Regions from separate parts of the Homo sapiens genome. Here region 1 is linked to region 2. The links are contacts of gene promoters, found by promoter capture Hi-C in blood cells and fetal thymus (Javierre and others, 2016). All regions are on one chromosome and are shown on one strand. The core of a region is centred on a gene start or on the middle of the fragment in contact, and the rest is flanking DNA. Distances in the headings are between cores, read along the strand shown.

Region 1 (4,165 bases), core at 1,303-3,802, about 60 Mb after region 2:
TGCCTTCTTCCCCCAACCCCATCCCACACTTTCCCCTGTCCCTCTCCTCAACATATTCATTTAGTTATTTATGTTGCTTAATCTGGAAAAGTTTCTCGAAAAAGATTTTTTTAAGGTAAGGCAAGAAGTAAAAAAGAAAAACAGTATTTTCTTCGTCGCCCACTTGAGAGGCCCCACATGTGGGACTAGTTTTTCTAAAATGAGAAGCAAACCTAGTCCCATTTCCTTTCCTCACTCCCTCCAATCCCATGTCAAAGATCCAGTGCCCTGTCCCCTTCAAAGTCAAAGGGGTGTCTGTCTCAAAAGAAAATGAACTCAAATACACCTGTAATTGTAAAAGGCTTTATCCTCTGCAATGGGAGTAGTATTCCGGAAGTAAAGAATAAGACTGCCTTCGGCACCCAACTAATGTGGCTACTTTCACATAAGGAACTAACCAAAGACAGAAAATCCCACGCTGAGTTTTGAGTACATTTGCTTAAAGTGCATTTCTTCTGTCACTACTATACGAAAAATATCACTCTTGATAAATGCTGTTTACCCCCTAAAAGGAGCTGCTTTCTATGTTCACGGCCATTTCAGATGTTCAAGGTATGAGGTGGGGGAGGGTTATCCTAGTGTTGGAATTAGGAAGAAGTATAGACAGATCCCATAGTGATAAAACCATGTGCTACTGAAGAATGGCCTCAGAAGGTGACATTCCCAGGCTAAGTAACACTATTTGGTGTCTGGTTCTCAGACACCGGTTTCTTAGTCCCTCCAAAAAATGAGGTCCTTGATCACAGATTGACTCTAACACAAATCACATACTTATCAAGATGTCTATAATAATTTTTAGTGGTCAGCTTTCCTTTTCAGTGACAGCACTCTTTCCTAAAAACAACCATTCTCTAGAGTTATGGCTTAAAACAAGTCAGTCTGTACCATTTATTAAAGTTGATATGCCTATAGAAGCTTGAAATTTATTTATTTATTTATTTATTGAGACGGAGTCTCCCTCCGGCGCCCAAGCTGGACTGCCGTGGCGCGATCTCAGTTCATTACAACCCCCGCCTCCGGAGTTCAAGAGATTCTCGTGCCTCAGCCTCCCGAGTAGCTGGGACTACAGGCATGAGCCACCACGCTCGGCTAATTTTTGTATTTTTAGTAGAGACGGGGTTAGGCCATGGTGGCCAAGCTGGTCTCTGAACTCCTGACCTCAAGTGATCCACCCTCGGCCTCCCAAAGTACTGGGATTACAGGTGTGAGCCACCGTGCCTAACCCAAATTTATCTTTTACAGTTGCATTCTTGTTTGTTGCATTTTCTCAAGTCTCAAACTGTTTACCTATTTGCCTGGGTTTTCCACAAAACAGTGTGGCAGTATCGATTATGTTCTGGGCTAGATCTCCTATACAAAAGTGGTAACACAGTGAAAGGCAAGTTGATTTCCTCAAAGACACATGGTGGGAAGTGGAGAGACTAACTGTCACCGTTTATTTCTGTTCAAGAGGACTATACTGAACTATTTACACTGAACATATTTAAATGGTACAAATTTTATACTGGAATAAAACGAAGCTACATGATCTCAAAATTAGGGTTAGTTAGACCTTCCATATGATAAAATACTCAATCCAGCAACTCTGCCTGAGAAGACCAATTAATACTTCGTTTGGAATCCTAACTCTAGCCTCTTACTAGCTGTGTGCCATTGAGCAATTTACTGGGACTCTCTGAGCATGTTTCCTCGTTTTCTAAAATGAAAAAGTACAATAGCTACCATAGTGGTTAGGTTCTCAAGTCAGTAAGTAAGGGGATGGGGGACCTAAGTTGAAATTCCCTTTGAAAATCACTTGAATTGTCCATAAGAACAGTATATTGACTTTTGCGTACATACCACTATACAGTAAGTCCCACAGACACTAAATTTTGAGCAACCATTGAGATAAACTAAATAAGAAATGCATGTGTTCATTAGTTATTGTAAAACTTGAATGGCATATGCACGTGTGGAGACATTAAAGCCATCCTGGTTTTAGAATTCACAATCACTAACAGTAAATGGGGTATGGATGGAGAACACCACTCCAGGTGCTTAACAAATGTCCGTGTCCTTCCTTTCTTCTGCCCTTAAAACCACCTGGAAACCTTCCCGGAGCAGCCGGTTGAATGGGGTTACGCCAGAGACACAGGTATTGATTTACGCAGAGAGTACGTCGAGGGAAGAAGCTTGGAGACTCGTATAGGGTTCTTACCCTGGCACTGGCACTTAGAAGCACCTTGATGAATACGAAAAGGAATTATTATTTACCCTAGGTTACAGCTCGAGCTATTTCGACGTAATAACGATCCCACGTACACTTTAAAAAGCAAACTTCTCACATACATCACTTCCTGGAAGCCCTAGTCAGCCTTTAGCCCAAGCAATGCTGAGCCCAATCCTTCGGCCTTCCGTAGTCTCGCTCGGTTTCGCGAGATCGAGGCTGAGCTCCGCCGCGCCGCCGTGGGGGCGACCCCAGAACACTTCCGGGTGTAACTGGTTGTGCTGTCTGTGTACTTCCGGCAGCCTCCAGACAGTTTCTTCCGCTTCCTGTACCACCCGGCTCAAGTAGCGGACACGGAACAGGGAACTATCAGCCCGTCGGCCTCCGGGCCCTGCATTCTCTAGCCATGGACCGGGACCTTTTGCGGCAGTCGCTAAATTGCCACGGGTCGTCTTTGCTCTCTCTACTTCGGAGCGAACAGCAGGACAATCCACACTTCCGTAGCCTCCTGGGGTCGGCCGCCGAGCCAGCCCGGGGCCCGCCGCCCCAGCACCCGTTGCAGGGCAGGTAATGAGACGTTGGTGCCACTGCGCCACGGAAGAGGGGACGCAGCTCTGGCAGCCACTACCGCAGCCCCGGGTTTGCGTCTAGAGGAAGTGGAGCCGCGGCCGTGAGCACAGGACGATCGCGCGCTGGTGTCTTGGGCTGGGTGGACGGGGGGCGCTCCTGGGTTGTGCAATGCGGGATGCGGGCTGAACTTTTTCTCTGGCACTGCTTGGTAGAGGCGCAGATTCCTTAGCTAAAAATCCCTTGAGCTTTCCTATCTGAGTTGGAGGCGTCACTTTTTAAGTTTCCCCGCTCTCCACCTCCAGGTTGGTTAATGAGGGAATGCCTAGTTAAAACTTTTTGTCTGAGGTTGTATTGTCTGCAGCTTAGGATGGAGCGGAATGGGCGATGAAAGCCATAAGCAGAAGGTTAGAAGTAAAGAGGCTTTGCAGATAACCCAATTTTCATATATATTTTTTTCTTTTTAAGAAAAGAGAAGAGAGTTGACAACATCGAGATACAGAAATTCATCTCCAAAAAAGCGGATCTGCTTTTTGCACTTTCCTGGAAATCAGATGCACCTGCAACTTCTGAAATTAATGAAGACAGTGAAGGTCAGTTTAGCCTTAAAATCTTTAAGATTGCGGTTCGGTTTAACAGTACTTCAGGTGAAACGGAACTCAAAACTATCGTTAGTGATTTTGTTAATTTTTTTTTTTTAGATCATTATGCAATCATGCCACCTTTAGAGCAATTCATGGAGATACCTAGTATGGATCGGAGAGAGCTGTTTTTCCGAGATATTGAGCGTGGTGATATAGTGATTGGAAGAATTAGTTCTATTCGGGAATTCGGTTTTTTCATGGTGTTGATCTGTTTAGGAAGTGGTATCATGAGAGATATAGCCCACTTAGAAATCACAGTAAGTTATTTTTGTTACTTGGATTGCTTCTGTTTTTGTTAACGCATCTCAATGCAAGAACTATATCTTTGCATGCAGTTGTGCTCAAGTATACCTGCCAAGATGCTTTTGGAAATTAAATGTTAATTGGAGAAAAATAGTTTAAAAAAATTAGTGTAAGTTACCCAGTTTCTCCCTCCATTTCTGGTTTTTGGGATTTTTTAAATTTAAACTGGTTGGCAGGCACAGTGTTCTTTTCTAAATGCTCAAAGAGGTATCAGTGGACGTGGTGAGGTTGATTGATATTCAGACTTATTTCTTGTAGTTGAACATATGTATTCTTAATTAGTTAATATTTGGCATTGTATATTTTCATGTGGATAATTTGGAGAGAAGTTTCATTTATATATTTACAATAATTAAATGTAAGTGGTTTGTACATTATATTAAGATACTTTGCCCAAGATGGATAG
Region 2 (4,406 bases), core at 1,256-3,755:
CATTCTTGCATAGCAACAAGACACATGCTTAAAACTCTCTCATGTGCACTTAGAATAAAATCCAAACTTTATCATAGCCTTCAAGACCTGACACGGGCTGACTTGCCCAAATTTATATTTGCCACTTTCCCTCTTGCTCACTTCCCAGTACAATGTCCTTCTTTCAGAATTTTAGTAGTTACCCTCCTTGCCTCTGGGCTTTCCCATGTGCCTCTGTCATTTTGTCTCAAGGCATTCTGTAGGTCTTCATAGAACTCATAACCACTGTAATTAAATAATGAGGTTCATAGTTAGTTGTTTAATGTCTGTCTCCTGGATCATGTTCACCATTGTATCCCCAATACTTGGGACAGTGCCTGACACAGGGCAGGTATTCAATAAATATCTATTGAAGAGTAAATGAAGAGACATCTTGCCCAAATGCTTCATTTGTAGATTAGAAAGCTACAGTTAGGATACGCTACAGTTAGGATACAAGTGACTTGCCTAAGGCTGGAGCACCAAGAGTTCTTTTTTCCCAGGCCAATATTCTTTTTTTTTTTTTTTTTTTTTTTGAGACAGAGTCTCGCTCTGTCGCCCAGGCCGGACTGCGGACTGCAGTGGCGCAATCTCGGCTCACTGCAAGCTCCGCTTCCCGGGTTCACGCCATTCTCCTGCCTCAGCCTCCCGAGTAGCTGGGACTACAGGCGCCCGCCACCGCGCCCGGCTAATTTTTTGTATTTTTAGTAGAGACGGGGTTTCACCTTGTTAGCCAGGATGGTCTCGATCTCCTGACCTCATGATCCACCTGCCTTGGCCTCCCAAAGTGCTGGGATTACAGGCGTGAGCCACCGCGCCCGGCCTTCCCAGGCCAATATTCTTTTGCTCCACTTAACTCTGAGGTCCCTTCTACCTTTAACGTTCTGTTATCTCTGAAAATACAATAAAGTGTGAAAATATCTTACAGATGGAAGATACCTCTTTTTCGTTTTGTACAATACATTTGGCTCTATTTCCCACTCCCCCACCGGGCACTTTTATTATCCTGTTTCTCTGCTTCCTCCTAAAGTTAAATTTAACATATTTACTGCATAATCTAGTAGGTGAAGCAGATAATTCCTGTAAACAAGGAATCATATCCAATAAGGTAAATGCAAAGGCAAGATGAATGAAGCACAGAGAAAGTACAGCATAGGCTGTACTTTTTTGTGCAGGGAGTAGTAACGAAAAAAATTGTTGTGCAGGGAGTAGTAAAAAAGGAATCACAGAGATGATTAACTTGAGATAGCTTTTGAAGGATGATAGGCGTTTGCCAGGTGAAGGAAACATTCCAAGCAAGGGAAACAGCACGTGTACAGAGGCACTGCATCCATTCAACACATACTGAGTGCCTACCAGCAACTCCAAGCTGCTTTCTCTACGTGGGAAAATGCATAGGTCACTGAACTCCACAAATGGTAGTTGGTACTGCCACAGAGAAGAGGAAGCTGCAAATGTAGTGGAAAGCAAGGGTTAGATCAGAGCACCTTGTACGCCACGCTCAAAGGCACGTACTTTGATCTATAGAGATGGAAATCCACGGAAGACTTTTGAGCAAAGAAGTGACAACCTCTGATTTACATCTGTTTTGAGTTTCCACTCAGTTTGGATCACGCCCCAGATTCAATAAGGAAGACAGAAAAAATGCCTCGAGAATCTGCATAGGCCAAACACAACACACCAAACAGTCACACATGCGAACATACTAGGTATTTACAACAACTTGCTGAGATGGTTGGGCAGAACTCACTACCGCACAGTTAAAGAGAAAGCTTGGAAATAGTTACGTGACAAACGTTGAGGTGCCCAGGCCCGGCGCCCCAGGGTTCCCGGACACCGCCCGAGGCCTCCCCACCCTCCGGCACACACCCGCTCACCTCTGCAAGTTCTCGATCTCAGCCGGGATGCTCTGCAGTTGGTTGCCGCCCAGGCTCAGGGTCTGCAGCGCGCGCAGCTCTAAGAGCGAGGCAGGCACCTCCTGGAAACAGTTGCCGCTGAGGTTGAGCACCTGGAGGCTGCGGCAGAGCGGCGACTGGGCCAGGCCCTTGGGCAGCGCACTGGGCCCGCCGAGCCGGTTGTTCTTGGCCAGCAGCGTGCGCAGGCCGCGCAGAGCGAGCAGCTCCGGCCCGAGCGCGGTCAACGCGTTGCCGCTCACGTCCAGCAGCTGGAGGTGCGGGAAGCCGCTGCCCAGCGCCCGTGGCAGCGACACCAGACGGTTGTGAGGCAGCAGCAGCCGCAGCAGCGCCTCCCGCGCCCCGCGCCGCTCCTCCCCCCGCGCCTCCAGCTCAGACTCCAGCGTCTCGGTGGACACGCTGAGGCGGGACCAGTTCAGTTCGGCCTCCCCGGCCGTGACCACCGCTGCTCCGGCCTCCTCCATCCTGGCCACCGCACGGCGCGTGGCGCCGGATTCCCCAGAGCGCCGCGCGCGGTCCAGAGGCCGGGAGCTCTGCGGCGCCCCGGAACCTGAACCGAGGGCTGAGTCGGAAGTGGCGCGGGCGGGCGCAAACCCTGCGCGCCTTGGCCGAGTCACGCGACGCGAGTCCTGGGGTGCGCGCGCCGCTCCGGGGCGGGCTCTGCCTCACGAGGCGCGGGGCGCGGAGTGGCAAGAGCGCAGCATGGGCTGCGCAGAACTGAGGCAGACACCCAGAGGCTGCCAAATTGTCATCTGAGCCGGACCGGGTTTCGGCGGCCGCGCTTTATAGTCGCTGGAGCCTGGTGACCTATTCCAGGGCTACAAGACTGCCTCGGCAAACAGCCCAAGGATGTTCGGTTATCTCGCCTTGAGGGTTCGCGCGTCACGTGCCCCCCCCGTCCCCCGCTTGTTTTTCAGTTTAAAAGTGGGGCCCGTGTCTGCAGGACTCTGTGAGCACACAGTAATTTAGTGGTGATTTAGCTCCATGACAGAAAACCGCAGGAATTTAAAGTCCGAGGATTAACAAAGCCGACCTCGAAATGTGAACGCAGCTGGACTAGACCTCAGAACCCCCGGACCCTTACTGGAGGTTCCGCTGTTAAATAGCCTAGGGCAGGGATTTGATTTCAGTTGCCCCATGCATAAAATATGGGTAACACCCGCACTACTTGCCCCACAGAATTATTTTTTTCTTTTTTAAGGCAGAAATGTGTATCAAGTAAGGACGTTTTGCCCGTTTTAATTGTAGAAGCACATACGTGGCTTTTGGTGTAAGTTGTGTCTAGGAGTGAATTTGGGAGATATGGAGGCGGTTGCATGATTTGAGATAGCTCAAATTAATGAGTTAGTTTAAAAACTCAAAGCATAGAGTTTGTACTGCAGGTCAAAACTACAGTTTGGGAAAATCCTGATCTGGTACTAATTTAGTAATTCTAATTAACGTATTTTTCATCCTTGTCCCAAACTCAATCTTTTCTGAAATTACATTTTATGATTTTGAAAAGTAATGAATAGAAATGAGAAAAAATGCTTAGCTTTTTTTTTTTTTAACAAAGCTTATACATAAGAAAGTTAAGTGGTCGTGTATAATCAACGACATTAAATTGCTTTCCTCCTTAAAAAAGGAAAGTCGTTTTTTTCTTGCCAGTCATTTATTTGTATGAGAAACTATGCCTTTACTCTGCAGTCAAACTTTAATTTCTGATTGAGTGGTAGTCCTAGAAGGACGTACTTTGTATGTTTAAGCTAATGGTGGAATGCTTTTTAAAACTGATGAGTCATCTGTTTTGAAAGAGTCCTTTTAAGAACAGACCTTATTTTGGGTCAAGCCAGCATTCTAACAGTAGTCCTAATATCTGAAAATAACAAATATTTAAAATAATAGTTGTTTTTGCTTTAAAATATTTATCTTGGATTTTAAAAAGTGATAGGAACGTAATGTAAAATGAGAAAAAGAAAGGATTCAAACATAATTCAGAAATAAGAGTTGGCCAGGTGCCATGGCTCATGCCTGTAATCCCAGTGCTTTGGCCCAGGCCAGCAGATCGCTGAGGTCAGGAGTTCCAGACCAGCCTGGCCAACATGGGGAAACCCCGTCTCTACAAAAAATACAAAAATTAGCCGGGCCTAGTGGCGCTCGCCTGTGGTGCCAACTACTACACAGGCTGCTGGGAGGATTGTTTCAGCCTAAGAGGTAGAGGTTGCAGAGAGCCATGATTGTGCCACTGCCCTGCACTTTTTTTTTTTTTTGTCTCAAGAAAAATAAAATAAGAGGTAAGATTACAAATCAGTGGAATTAAAGGGAAAAAGATAACCTCAATAATAGCAAATGAGGCTTCCTAGTAGAAAGTTTGGAAAAAAATACTTAGTATGGGAACTCCACATTATATAGAATAAAGGAAAGGAAGTAGAAAAAAAGTGGTGTAGGTAAAGAAATGAGTAACCTGACAAATTTTGAAAACCTACTGCTTGCAAC

What was found. The method cuts DNA at HindIII sites, captures the fragments that hold promoters and counts their contacts. A CHiCAGO score of 5 or more calls a contact.
Region 1: the fragment with the promoter of TTC14 here is called in contact with the fragment with the promoter of LRRC58 in region 2 in 1 of 17 cell types (total B cells); the score reaches 11.5 in total B cells.

The regions. Positions count from the first base shown.
Region 1 is chr3:180,599,611-180,603,775 of GRCh38, forward strand. It overlaps TTC14 (tetratricopeptide repeat domain 14), which reads left to right and starts at 2,553. Exons shown (of 12, transcript NM_133462.4): 1 at 2,553-2,812; 2 at 3,281-3,405; 3 at 3,514-3,713. The coding sequence starts at 2,652. TTC14-DT (TTC14 divergent transcript) reads right to left here and starts at 2,503. Exons shown (of 3, transcript NR_183700.1): 1 at 2,293-2,503. RefSeq lists an enhancer at 2,344-2,633. The HindIII fragment of the contact is 2,365 bases long and covers 2,209-4,165 here.
Region 2 is chr3:120,346,849-120,351,254 of GRCh38, forward strand. It overlaps LRRC58 (leucine rich repeat containing 58), which reads right to left and starts at 2,506. Exons shown (of 4, transcript NM_001099678.2): 1 at 1,896-2,506. The coding sequence starts at 2,395. It also overlaps the pseudogene BTNL12P. RefSeq lists an enhancer at 1,772-1,821 and a silencer at 2,172-2,501. The HindIII fragment of the contact is 1,696 bases long and covers 1,789-3,484 here.